4 separate regions of the Homo sapiens genome follow, and all the other regions are linked to region 4. The links are contacts of gene promoters, found by promoter capture Hi-C in blood cells and fetal thymus (Javierre and others, 2016). All regions are on one chromosome and are shown on one strand. Each heading gives the region's core, a stretch centred on a gene start or on the middle of the fragment in contact. The rest is flanking DNA. Distances are from core to core; before and after follow the strand shown.

Region 1 (3,538 bases), core at 391-2,890, 140 kb before region 4:
TTTTCTTTCCCTGAACCCTTAAATAACTTTTGCCATCTCTCCATTCATAAAAATCTGTTTTCAGCAAAGGGTTAATAAGCATACTCCCATTTAGTCGAGGAATAGCCTACAGCCTACTACTATGCAGTCTTCAACCTACTATAATCTGGTTTCAGTGCCACTTCCTAACTCAGCCCCCATTAAAACTTCTCTCACTGAGGCCACCCGTAAGCTCCTAATTGCCAAATCCAGTGGACACTCCCCAGTCCTATACTAACTGGGCTCCTGTAGGAGAGACACATTGCTAACAGGCCTCCATTTTATTTGCCCAGCCCTCAGGGATGAGTCATGATTGAGCTCAGGCAGTCATGGCAACCCCCTTCATTTTGTCAGTCATTGATCTAGGAAGGGCAAGGACCCTTGGTCAATGAGACATAAGGGGAAATCTGATGCCATCCCCTGGAAAATATTTTCTTCCTTGAAAAAGAATGAGGCACACAAGGAGAAAGACTTATTGTCTCTACTCCCCTTGATTTCTGTTTGGCAAGTTCTCACATGCAAACTTTTTGCTTGTAATGTCCAGCCTATGACCCTGAAGGTGAAATTTTTTACACGCTGAAGGTGGGCAGAGAAGACGAATGGAAAAAGTCTGGATTCTCCATGACATTGCTGGGTCACAGAGCCCAGAAAGAGACCACCTACCTCAGACTACTTGATAAGTCATTCATAATGACTGAAGCCACTTCTATTCTGTTACTTGCAGCCAAATGTATCCTGATTAGTATGATCTGTCTGTGTAGCATGTGATATTGTATACCACTGCTTCATTAAAATCTCTGACTCTAATCTCTGTGTGCTCTATGTACTCTTCCTTAATATGACCCTCAAATATGGGTGCTTCCTAAAAGACTAGCTTTCCAATCTCTTCTCTGCTTGCCCCCCATAGTTTCTGAGAGGGCTCTTCCTGGCCCACTGCTTTAGTTACCACTCATATTCACATCTCTCCGACTTCTCTCCCACGCTTTTTCTCAAGATATGTGAGATAAAACTCAACATTTTCCTTTGTGAACATGCCCCTCTGCCTGTATGCCTCATCTTATTCGATGCTAACTTCTCTACCCAGTCACCGAAGACAAAAATGCAGGCATCATAATAATCTTTCTTCTTTAATTATTCATACCCTCTCCTAGTCTTTATCATAGTGAATTGATTAAATAGTCATGCTCATTTCCTACTAAATATTTTTTGGCATCTCTCCATCCTCTCTCCTCTCACTCATTAGTTTACACTTTTTCACCTTCTGCTAAAACCATTGCAAGGCCTTCTTAACTGACTCACTTTCCAGTTTTGCCTCCTTCATCCAATCCCTTGCATTGCCTCAGGATGATTTTCTGCAGGCCAAATATTAGAGGGTCTCTCCTCTACTTAACCTGTCATTGATTCCTTAGAATGACATTCAAGTCCCTTCCTCATTCCACTTTAGAGTCTCCTTCTAGCTTCATATCCTCTGGGGCCAAGTGAGGAAGGGTCTATTTTTCCTGCAGTCTCCTTTCTACACTGTCTCTACTTCATCTACCTGGTGCACTCCCATTTATCTTTGGTTTAGGCATTATGTCAGCTGTGAAGGGTCTTTCTTTATTCTCATCACCCTCCTTACCATTCTCCATCCATCGTGAAAGAGTTAGATAGTTCCCCCGTAGGATCTTGTGCATGCCTCTACCATGGCATGTATCAGCCAATTCTGGAATCCTTGACTACATTGTCCAATCTCCATTAGACTCTGATCACCTTGAGGACAAAGACTGTCTTGTTCGTGTTTTTACTCCAAGTCTAACAGATAGTAGCAATAAACGTTTCAAGAAGAAAGAATTAAGTGAATGAATAAATGATGTTTTAATTCTCAGGGCATTTACATTTTACAAAAATAAAACAACGAAACCACTAAGCCATAAAAAGGAATTTCTAATTATTTGATGTCCCACCTCAGGGCCCAGTGAGGAGGCACCTTCCAGATGCTGTGGTGAATCACGCTGCATGGACAGCTATTAGTCCACAGTAAAATCCACTGTCTTGCCTGTTGGGCAAATTTTCTTTCAGAAAATTTCAGAAATTTTGGCATTTCAACAAGGCATTTCAAAGTCTATAAGTTGTCCAAAATTAATTATAGCCTTTAGTGAGCATACTGTAATGTTTTTCATGTAGTTATGATTCTTTTAAGGAACTTGTGTAAAAAGCATAGTTTTTCTTAAGACATGAATTCAGAAATTTTATGGAATGCATCTGCAATATGTATAGACATGAGGGATAGTTTTAGTCATGCTGTGCCCCCGATATCCAGTTATAAGTTGCTAGCCATCATTGTTAGGCTCAGTGTACACACTGTGTTTAACATAATGTGAGCAGATCCAGTCATTTTAAAAACATGGTAATCATTGACTGAGGTAGATGTTGCACTCACTCTTCTGCATTTGCTTAATTCAGATCTAGTCTGTACCCTGTTCTGTGCCCCAAGAGGTTGACCTTTATGGACTGCATCAGTTAGGCTGCCCATCTCTTGGGTTTCTGATTGGGATTGAGCTGTGAGCACCACCAGCAAAAGATTAGAAGAAAGGAAGAGAGAGAGGTTGTTTCTTCCTTGCCAGGTCAGATTTGACAATGGCTGTGTTCCTCAACCAAATGCCACAGCTCCTGTTGGGTGAACTTCTCCAGGTTGCTGTAACCTCTCCATCCTCTTGCCTCTTAGGCCTGGAGGTCATAGAGGTGGTAACAGTCTCTGCTGCTGCTAGCATAGGAGGGTTTCACTATCCTCTCTTGGTTTCCCTCAACTCTACCCTTACACTTGTATATATTCTCTTCATTAACCTTTCTCTAATCATGCACTTTGAGTGCCACCTGTTTCCTGCTGTGACCCTGGCAAATACACATGCTCAGGATGCTTAGGGAGATGACGAAAAGCATTAATCTATTTACTCCATCGCCCACAACTTTTACCTTTGTTTGCTCAAACCTCATCCACCATGGGCACAAAAGTTCCCAATTATAGCAACACAACAATATTTTGGGGTGGTCATCTGCAGAATTTTGGTTCTCTCTCTCTCTCTAATTCTAATATAATGGTTCTCAACTGCCTAAGAGGAGGGCAGTCACATGCTTTGGAACTGGTTAAAGCTGGATGAAAGGGCCCCTGGGGCAGCTGCCAATCAATAAGGTGCATTGATACATCACTGGGCTAGAGCAGACATGGCAGAAAATGCAACAAGACAGAGAAAACAGTATTACCTAGAAATCTTCGCAGGAGGAACACTGTATGTGTTAGTAGAAGAATTTCGATGAGTCATTTGGAGTAGGATGGAGAGAGGAAAAAGAGGATGAGAGACACCCTCCCTCTCCAAAAGCCATGCTGTGGTAATAACAGGTGGTTTGATAGACTGGTTTCTAAGGAGAACGGGTTGCCTTAACTTGGAAGATTATGCTTGGGCTAAATGTGTTTTCTTGGGTCAGAGCTGGAGTGAAATTTTTCTTGAAGGAAAAGGTAGAAAGTTTGAAATGGCCTCATTGA
Region 2 (3,424 bases), core at 332-2,831, 170 kb before region 4:
CATTCCCCAGTCCTGTAGGAGACAGTCTCTTCTTGACTGGCCTTCTCATAGGGCACTGAGCCTCTGGAGTGCTGAGCACTGGCTTTTCAGCTTCTGGGTACTGGGGAGGAAGTGGTCAAAAACCCAGGGGGAAAAGAAAAAAACCTCTGCCCTGGGGAAGTTGAGGCTCTACGTGTGGAGATGAATTATGTGAACCCCACTCCCACCACGGCCAAACCCCGTAAATCACCCCAGTCAGCTACCATCACTGGAGCTCCCTTTGTAAATGTTGACAGCAGCTGCTATCAACTTGGGCAGCCAACTGGGCTCAGCCAAGAAGCCTTTGGGGAAGATGTGGGTTAATCATCAAGCAAGGCTTTAAAAGCGGACGGAGGCCAGAGGCCAGACCCCCGCTGGTGCAGATGCACAGACCTGTGACAGAGGTGCAGGCTGTGGGGCGGCGTGGAGGCGGGAGGTGGTGGGGGGATCAACAAGATTAGCTCAGGCAGGGAGAAGAGTCTGAGGGGGAATGTAAGAAGCACAGGAAATGAGTGCAAGCAGGAGGGGCTTTCGAACTGTGTTGAGATTGACTTGGATAGATTAGCAGTGGGGAGCAGCTGTGGCTTGGGCAGAGGCACCTCTGAGGCCAGCCAGGCAGGCCACAGCTGCACCTGCTGGGCCCCTTCCTGCCATGCACCTATAAGGAAGCAGCTCCACCAGGAACCCCACCAGCCTCTGTCTTGTGCCAGTTGGGTAATGTGCACCCGGATGCATCCAGTATTATTGTTTCATTGGCAAAGCAGTTCAGGATTTTCTAGCTGACCAGTTGGCCCAATTAGGATTTCTCCCTCACAGATAGCAAAAAAGTTGGGCCTGCCTTCCAGTCCACTTTGCCAATCCTCCTGCTAGAGAACTGAAGTCAGTCCTCCAGTCCTCCTGCTAGAGAACTGAAGTCAGACAATGTTGGGTTTATGGACTAGTTGCAATGAGGAATAACACACAGATAGCACGGGGAGCCATGGGGCAGCTCAGTAAGAGGATGTGATAAAGGACTTCTTGTAGGATTTGGGCTTAGGTGATACTGGGGAGGATTCAGGGAAGTGGGAGATTGCTCTGGATTTTGGATGTTATCAGGAAGCAGAGGTAATTCTAGGACTGGGTATCTTAATAATTCTTACCTAGAAGGCAGAAGGAATGAGATGAGGCTAAAGGTGTAATTAATAAAGAAGCAGAAGTTGCTCATATTAGCCAGGAAAGGAGCATCTTTGGTCATTCTTGTGGTTCGGACAATGTTCTTATTTTTGTCTGGGTCTAGACATGATTATGGGATCATCTTGTTTTCTTTTGCTCCATTACAGTCACAGAGCGGCTGTATCTGATGTTGGTGTTCTATGGAAATTATGTTCAACAGGAGCACACCATGGCCCAGATGTGAGCGCCAGGCTTATGTCTAAAGGCAGCCAGGAATCCTGCAGAGAAAAGATTCTGATGGTTCTCAGCATTCCTATCTAAGCAGAAGCTCCTCTTGCAGGGCTAGAGATGATGCCGGAAGAAAGCAGGTGCTCCTGTTGGAAGGCTGCCTCAGGTCTATTCATCCATTCAACAAATACTTTTTGAATGGGAAACATACTCAGGCACTTGGGACAGAGCCGTGACATGGATAGTTCTCATGGGTATACATTTTATTGAGGGACACAGACAACATGAGTGAACAACACTGGGGCCTGTTGGGGGATGGGGTGGGGGGAGGGAGAGTATTAGAAAAGATGGCTAATGTATGCTGGGCTTAATACCTAGGTGATGAGTCGACAGGTGCAATAAACCACTATGGCGCATGTTTACCTGTGTAACAAACCTGCACATCCTGCACATGTACCCCAGAACTAAAAATTAAAAAATATATTTAAAAATAAAGTCACGGGTATTACCGGGCATTATAAAGACAATAAAAGTAGTTGTCAGAGAATGACTGGGGGACACTTTGGAGAGGTGGTCAGGTAAATGCTCTCTGAGGAGGTGATCAGAAGGTTCCCTGTGAGATTCTAAGGTGAGACTAGCAGCAGGAAGAAGGCAGGAACATCTGCAGTGTGGTAACTGAGGGAGAGATGGGCTGAGATGAGGCTAGAAAGGTGGGCTGTGTTAGGGGGTTTGGGGTTTACTCCCCATGCCCTGGGAGGCCACTGGAAGACTTTAGCGAGAAGAACAGCAGGCCCCACATCTCCCTGTGAAACAGCAGAGGCTTGCAGCATACTGGCCTCTCAGCATCCCAAGACCTGTTCCTGACCTGCCCCAGCCCCTCCCTCCAGGCCTGGGGTTTTGGGTGTACGGGAAATAGTCTGACTGTCTCCTACTCTGCTGAGGTCAGTCATTGTTCAGAGTGGTGTATTAGTTCCCTATTTCTGCTGTAACAAATTACCACAACTTAGTAGCTTAAAGCAACACAAATGTACTACCTTATAGTTCTGGAACTCAGAAATCCTAGCATCAAGATGTCTGCGGGGCCTTTGCCTCCCAGAGGCTGCAGGGAAGTACCTGTTTCCTTGCCTTTCCCAGCTTCTAGAGGCTACCTCCATCCCTTGGCTTGTGGCTCCTTCCTCCACCTTCAAAGCTGGTGGCATAGCATCTTCAAAGCTCGCCCACTGTCTCTCTGACTATGACCCCTGCTTCCATCATCATAGCTCATTCCCCGACTCTGACCCACCTGCCTCCCTCTTATAAGAACCCCTGTGATTACACCAACCCCACCCAGATAATTCAGGATAATCTCTCTATCTCAAGGCTCTTAAATTAGCCACATCTTCAAAGTCCCTTTTGCCATGTAAGGTAACATATTCACAGGTTTTGGGAGTTAGGAGTTAAACATCTTTGGGGAGCCATTCTGTCTACCACAGGTAGTCACCTGGACAGCAGAGAACCGAAATTTATCTTGAGCCATTCTACTAATGATATGTGTCATTTAGCCACTGGAAACCTACTCACTTATCTGTAAAAATGAGATGAGTACTTGCCCCACCTACCTCAGAAAGTTATTGTATCACATGAATTAACATAGCACATCTGGAAAAAAAGAAATGCTGTAAAATATAAGGAATAAATATGATGTGTTATGGAGTCTGCCAAACATAGGTACCAAGGGCATGTTATATATTAACATAAAATACTGAAATTGAAAGAACCAGGTTTGAGTCCTGCTCTTAAAAATACTTGCTGTGTGACCTTGGACAAGTAACTTAAAAAGTATTTGGGTTTTGTGTGTAAAATTTGGAAAACGCTATCTTCTCACAATAGTATTGTGAAGTTAAAATCAAGTAATATAGGCTGGGGTGCTGTGTGAAATGCTACACAAATGTTCTTTATTGAATATTTCATGGACAAGTGCCCAAATACTTCTTCCTAGATAGATGCTTAATGAATCCAAGTAACGGGGTGGTACCTATCAGACCAA
Region 3 (3,374 bases), core at 195-2,694, 150 kb before region 4:
TTTTGAGTGGAGGCATTTCTAAAGAAAAACCCGAAAGTACAAACCATAAGGAGGAGAAAAAAATACGGATTTGTCTACAAAACAAAATTAAAGATTTATTCCAACAAATACTACAGACAAAGTCAACAGGTAAACTGGAAGAAGATGTTACTGACATCCCAAACCAAAGAATGTAGATCTAGGAAATCCTGCGAAACAGTAATAAAAAGGGAAAACAGGCAAAATATACAAGAGGAAACCTCTTAATGGCCAATAAGTGTATACAAAGATGCTAAACATTACTAGCAATCAGAGAAATACAAATTAAAACATCAATGAGAGATCACTTTAGAGAAAGTCGGATAAAATCAAGTATAACAAAGACACTGCTAGAGGGGTGGAAATAAATGCAGCCATCCTGCAGAGCAATCTAGGAGTCCCTAGAGAAATCAAGGATGCATTCTTGGCCCTGAGTATGTGCCCAAGAAAACACTGATGTGCAGATCATAAGAATACATGTAAAGCTGTCCATCATGGTGCGTGTGTGTGTGTGTGTGTGTGTGTGTGTATGTATGTATGTAAACAAGGACTGATGTTTGTTAATAAAGCAATGGTTTAGTTAAACATAAACAAATACAAGATGGGCCACTATTCAAGCCAGAAGCGGGAAAGGAGATTTACATATAGCAGCGTGGACGGGTCACCAAAGCATATTGATGATGGCCGTGGTACGTGAAGTGAGTAATTTACTCTATTCTCCTGAGGTCCAAATTAAATAAAATGTAAATACATAGAGCCAGTGGTCACAGAACTTCAGTGTCTCTGAAATGTTTATGTGCATGAGAATCATCTGAGGTATCTGTTAAAAGAACAAATTTGAGGGTCCCACACACAGAGATTCTGAACCTGCACTTTAAACATGCATCCCAGGTGATTCTCCTATAAGTGGACCACAGGCTGCACTTGGAGACACCTTCAACTAGGTAAAATCAAGCTACCAGGAGAGTGATCAGAAGTTAGTAGCAAGGGAAATGGCAGTAGAACATCTGCCCAGCACCGGCAGCAAGGAAATGACTCTGAAGCAGCTGGCCCTGTCAGCAGCAGCTGCCTCTCTCCCCTCCCTTTTTTTGTGAGCCAATCTTAGTGGGCCTGGCCTGAAGGGGTTTGGGTGATGGAAACTGACAACTGCCGTCTGGGGAGCGTGTCTGGAGAGACAGGAAGCCACTGGGGGGCTTTTTCTTCATGAGGATGCTGCTGTGCGTAGTGCCACCAGGGGTCCTAAGCTTGATGTGACCATCCAGACTCACAGTGGGCTTCTCCAGGTTGGGCTGTGGGTTGGGGGGAGGTGGGCTATGAAAAGAGTGAGAATGACATATGGGGGACATTGTCAGATGCCAATGCTTGAGTCTGTTCCGATGAGAGAAGCACTGCTGAGCCTTCTCCTGGCAGATCTGGTGGACTCTGGGTGCAGATGGTCCAGGAGTCGAGCCACAGAACCCCGTCATCCCTCCAGTGTCTTCATTGCTCTTGCCTCCTTTGGTCCCTGCCTCTGGCCTGTGCTTTAAGAGCTGGACTGTTCTGAGGCATATTGTGTACCATGTGGAGGGGATAGTGACTGCTATGATTGTAGGCAGATGGGATGTGGTCTTAAGCTTGCCTTTAGGGGTGTCTGATGGCATGCTCAGCCCTGCATCTCCAGCCAGAGACGTCTCCCTCCCTGTGAATGGATTACAGCCACCCCAGTCAAGAACGGACTCTGGACTCCTACTGTTATTTATCCAGGCACTGTTCCCCAACTGGCCCAGAGAACTAACGGAAGCCTGGATTCACTGTCCCCTTCCTAATGTGCAGAATGGCCTGGTTTCCTAAGGACAAGGAAGGTTTTTCAGATTTATACAAACAGACCGTGCATATTTGTGGGTATCCAGGTAACAAACCCAGTTTGAAACTCCTTTTGACAGCATAATTCATAACTCCAGACAGAAATGCTAACGTGAACACAGACACTCCAAAGGTGGAAAAGATTAAGAAATGGTCCCAAACATAGCTCTCTCTAGAAATCATCTGATTCTCTAACACACCTCATTTTGCAAATGTGAGTATTGTCATGTAAAGAGAAAAGAACCAAAGAGAAAAAGAAGACTGGCAGAGAATCCAGAGACACAAATATTTCAGGCTTATTAATAACCAGTAAAGCTTTCTTTCTTAGGAACTTCTTGAAGTCAGCTGTTTGATGCTGATGGTGTGTGATGTGTAAGCAAAGGTCTGTGAATCTGAGAATCCCCATGTGCGTCTACAGGACCGTTCTCCCTGCCCCTGTTTTAATGAGATCCAGGGCAGCTGCAGCTCCCATTGTGCTGAGTGGCCTGGGCAGGCTGACAGAGCTATTCTTCTCTCCTAGTAATGTGTTTGCTTAAGCATGAACATTAGTGTCAGAAGTGCTTAGTGCAAAGCAACCATTCAGGGGTGAAGCAGTCACTGCCAAGTCTATATGTCTGGGAATTCATTATGTCTATTCGTCTGGGGGTTAGGGTTAGGTAAACCTTGTATTTTCTAATGAAGTTGAAAAGGTAAAAAACAAAAACACTATTTATAAAATCATCTTTTTGGGGTGAGTCCAGCTGTGAAAACCCCAATGCCTTGTTCAGGCCATGGCTTCCTGAAAAACCGAACAATAGCTCTTGTTATGTGGGGCATATCCTCTTGCCCTCATCTGCCCTGTCTTCTGAAACGAGTGAAATGAAAGTTATTTTACACCCGACCTTGCACAAAGCTAATGTGCCTAATTAGCGGAAGATGTGCTTTTCGGATGGGAATCTGATTTTACTCAGTAGTGTCCTATCTTTCACGAGATGAGGACACATCATGGGCAGACTGTGTATTTTTTCTTGTCTTTCTCACAAGAGCAATGAATGTGATCTAAACTGATGACTCTCCTGTCTGTCTTGCCAGTATGGCCAAAGGCATTCATTTCCGAGGCAGCTGGCCAGGGCTGAGCCGCGGACAATTAACTGGGCCACAGGGCCCTGGGCTCACAACCTTCCTGCTGGATCCTGAACACAGGGCATTGGCATAACAATGAGCCACACTAAGACTTCCCTAGTAGGAAGCTGTCTGTTTTCATCTTTGTTGATCTTTTGGATAGATAATACCACGTGTCCTTCCCTCTGCTGTGTCTCCAGTACAGTGTTCCTGGAGTTAATGTGTATCACCAGCTTCCCCTGTAATGGTCCACCCACAGTGGTGTATAATGGGCAGGGAGGTGAGAGAGAGCAAGTGCAGGCAGTAATGGGGTGAGAATTTAAAGACAATAATAAAACTGACTCCAAGTCAGTCTGCTGCTTATTATCATCAAATGCTGACAATTTTTAAACAGTGTCACTGATAAAACACTC
Region 4 (3,471 bases), core at 155-2,654:
AGGAGGAAATCGCAGATTGATGTGAAGGCGTTGGTAATGTTCTGGTTCCTACACAGGTGAAAGGTGTACAGGTGTTTAACTGCTATGCTTTTTATCTCACACATCGCATAAATTTTTCTGTGACATAAAATATTACATAACATTTAAAAAACAGGTCAAGAGGGCAGGGTGCAGTGGCTCACGTCTGTAATCCCAACACTTTGGGAGGCCGAGGGGAGCGGATCACCTGAGGTTAGCAGTTCGAGACCAGCCTGGCCAACATGGTGAAACCCTGTCTCTACTAAAAATACAAACAAAACAAAACAAAACAAAATCCGGTTGGAGTGGTGCATGCCTGTAATCCCAGCTACTCGGGAGGCTGAGGCAGGAGAATCGCTTGAACTCGGGAGGCGGAAGTTGCAGTGAACCGAGACCGCGCCACTGAACTCCGGCCTGGGCAACAAGAGCGAAACTCCGTCTCAAAACAAAAAACAAACAAATCCAAACAAACAAACAAACAAACAAAAACAGGTCAAGGATCAGAAAAGTAAAGTGAGTTGACACTCCATTTACACACAGAAAGCCCAATGTTTTTCTATTATATCAGGATACCTCTTCTAAAGAATGATAGCTTACCTTTCAATCAGAGAAATGATCTAAAGTTCAAAATGTTACTCCATAGCTAGCTCCTGGAGGAAGGAAGCTAGGTGGCAGCGTGTACACAAAAAGGCAATTCATCCAAATAATAATATAACAAGAATATAACAAGTAGGTATTTTCTGCTAAGTGCTATGTAGCACAGGGGTGAATGCGTGGCAGGGCAGGAGGAGGGCTGTTTACAAGAGGGTATGAAATGCAGCTCTTCTTTTCAAGAGTGGTTGCAGAATGCCAGGGCTACAAAGAGAGGGCCGCACATTAAGCATCGTATTATGTGGGTACAGAGTATTAGGGTTCTCGATGACCAGAAGGAGAATGAGTGCAGTTTGTTTCCTAGCAAGCCTTCTTTAGCTTCTCTTCCCAAGTGGGAGTGGGGTTGGGGTTGGGACTGTTCTTTCCTAGCTCAAAAGTTCACTTATGTCACACTAGGGTCAGTTTAAAGGAGAGTGCTAGTAAGGGTAAAGTCAAGTTACATAACCTAGCGGAAAATGAAGACCTAAAACCGCTCGTGAGCAAACACAACACTTTAGACGTAAACCTCTTCCAAAGAAGGGTGGATCTCAGCACTCTGGGTGAAAGCAATCTCAGCCAGTAAAACATCAGAACGCTTTCACGCACGCGCAGTAAGCACACGACCGGTGGCAAGAGCCCGGATAAAGGCGGAGCTAAAGGTGCCGGATAATGCATCACGGAGCGCGTGTGCGCACGCCGTAGGGGGCGGGCCGTTCGGGCTTGGTTTCCTGGGCGACCACCGCTGGCTAGTCCGTTAGAGGCGTGCGGGCTTCGGAGGCGTGCGGGCTTCGGGTGCCATGGGGACTCCTCCCGGCCTGCAGACCGACTGCGAGGCGCTGCTCAGCCGCTTCCAGGAGACGGACAGTGTACGCTTCGAGGACTTCACGGAGCTCTGGAGAAACATGAAGTTCGGGACTATCTTCTGGTGGGTGTTTCTTGTCCACCACCCGCCTCTCCCTGCCCGCAGGTGGTGTAGAAAGTTGCCTCCTTCCCGGCGATATTGCACTTGTGAAGGGCTGAGAAGAGCGGCAGTCACCGAAGGTTGCCTCCATGACTCCTGGACCTTCCCCTGTGCTCAGGCAACGCGCTTTCCCTGCTCTATTTCATTGTGCCCTGATGGTTGTTGCGGCCTCCTCCCAAATATGCGTCTCTGCCTGGCCTCCCTTCTAAACTCCTCTCTCCCATCTCCACCCTGAGCCAGGCCACTATCATTTGCCCTTCCCCAGTCTTGTTCTAGGACCTGATGTTTAAAAACACACAAGCAAAGACAAAACCCTTCAAGATTGAATTAATTTTTCCTCCAACAACCAAAGTTGTCTTTTTTTTTTTTTTTTTTTTTTTTTTTGAGACGGAGTCTCCTTTTGTCGCCCAGGCTGGAGTGCAATGGCGCGTTCGCGGCTCAGTGCAACCCTTCGCCTCTCAGGTTCAAGTGATTCTCTTGCCTCAACCTCCGGAGTAGCTGGGATTACAGGTGCCCGGCACCACGCCCGGTTAATTTTTTGTATTTTTAGTAGAGACGGGGTTTTACTATGTTGGCCAGACTGGCCTCGAACTCCTGATCTCGTGACCCGCCCGCCTCGGCCTCCCAAAGCGCTAGGATTACAGGAGTGAGCCACCGCGCCCGGCCCAAAAGTTGTTTTTCAAAAGTGCAAATTTGATTATGTCACTCCCCGACTTATTACTCTGTAGTGGTGCCCATTGCCTTTGGGATAACGCTTGAATTCTCTGACTTGCCAAGACCATTCCTCACTGGCCTTTGCCTATCTCTCCAGCTTCGCCTGCCAGTCCCCTCCATGCACTCACTTTCTTGCTCCAGCAGCTGCTTTTTTTTTTTTTTTTTTTTCTTTGGGCCCTCTACAGGCTTTTCCTAATCCTGGAGTTTCCACCGCAACTCTCTTGTTTTGTCCACCTTATTCTTCACTCAGGGTTAAGCTCAAATGACATCCTCGGGGGAAGTCTTTTTTGCTCTTCTAGACTGAGTACGCTGTTCATGTTTTTTCCCCGCATAGCACCCTGTTTTTATTTTATGTCACCGCTTTCCACATTTTGTTGTAATGGTATAGTTGAAAAGGCAGTGTGGGATTGTTAAGGGCATAGGTTATGGAACCCAATTGGCTGCATTTGATTGCAGGGTCCGCTATGACTTGGGGCAAGTTACTTGAGTTTCCATATCTGTAAAATAGAGGCAATGATAAACCTCATAGTAGTTGTGAAGATTAAATGAGCTGATATATCAGAAATACATTCTAAGTGCTCAATAAATGTTCATTATTATTATTTTTTTTTCTTGAGACATAGTCTTGCTCTGTCACCCAGGCTGGAGTGTAATGGTGCGATCTCCTATCACTGCAACCTCCACCTCCCGGGTTCAAGAGATTCTCCTGCCTCAGCCTCCCGAGTAGCTGGGACTACGGCTTGTGCCACCAAGCCTGGCTAATTTTTGTATTTTTAGTAGAGACGGGATTTCACCATGTTGGCCAGGCTGGTCAAATGTTCATTATTACTACCGTTTTAAAATTTTCCTTTGACTAGACTGACCTCTGTGAGGACAGTGACTGGATGAATCTATTTTTATTACCATAGTACATATAATATTAAAAAGGCGAAATAACTGATTTTCTGAATGAGTTAAACCTTATGATTAAAACTTTTTCTGAACAAAATGTAAAAACTCATTTTCTCTCTGTCAGTGTAAGCAAATTACCTTTGTAGTTTTTTAAATTGCAAGGAATGGAGGATGAAGAGCTGTTTGTTGTACAGTTAATAAAAGGAGAGAGACTTTTTTTTTTAAATGGCTACTACATGCCATTTATTTATAGCTTT

The links. Contacts are between HindIII fragments. The CHiCAGO score rates a contact against its expected background, and 5 or more counts as called.
Region 1: a contact is called between a fragment that was not itself captured here and the fragment with the promoter of SNAPC1 in region 4, in 1 of 17 cell types (neutrophils). The highest score is 10.9, in neutrophils.
Region 2: a contact is called between a fragment that was not itself captured here and the fragment with the promoter of SNAPC1 in region 4, in 1 of 17 cell types (neutrophils). The highest score is 9.4, in neutrophils.
Region 3: a fragment that was not itself captured here is called in contact with the fragment with the promoter of SNAPC1 in region 4 in 1 of 17 cell types (neutrophils); the score reaches 5.8 in neutrophils.

What each region holds. Positions count from the first base shown.
Region 1 is chr14:61,625,043-61,628,580 of GRCh38, forward strand. The region is part of intron 1 of LINC03033 (long intergenic non-protein coding RNA 3033); the gene reads left to right. Among named protein-coding and RNA genes, the nearest start is that of LINC01303, 56 kb to the left of the region's middle. The HindIII fragment of the contact is 5,067 bases long and covers 1-3,538 here.
Region 2 is chr14:61,589,801-61,593,224 of GRCh38, forward strand. All of the region lies in intron 1 of LINC03033 (long intergenic non-protein coding RNA 3033), which reads left to right. Among named protein-coding and RNA genes, the nearest start is that of LINC01303, 21 kb to the left of the region's middle. The HindIII fragment of the contact is 4,871 bases long and covers 1-3,424 here.
Region 3 is chr14:61,606,600-61,609,973 of GRCh38, forward strand. The region is part of intron 1 of LINC03033 (long intergenic non-protein coding RNA 3033); the gene reads left to right. Among named protein-coding and RNA genes, the nearest start is that of LINC01303, 38 kb to the left of the region's middle. RefSeq lists enhancers at 776-1,526, 1,527-2,276, 2,725-3,336. The HindIII fragment of the contact is 369 bases long and covers 1,261-1,629 here.
Region 4 is chr14:61,761,016-61,764,486 of GRCh38, forward strand. It overlaps SNAPC1 (small nuclear RNA activating complex polypeptide 1), which reads left to right and starts at 1,405. Exons shown (of 10, transcript NM_003082.4): 1 at 1,405-1,573. The coding sequence starts at 1,446. RefSeq lists enhancers at 1-143, 144-887, 731-820, 888-1,631, 1,632-2,375. The HindIII fragment of the contact is 7,963 bases long and covers 1-3,471 here.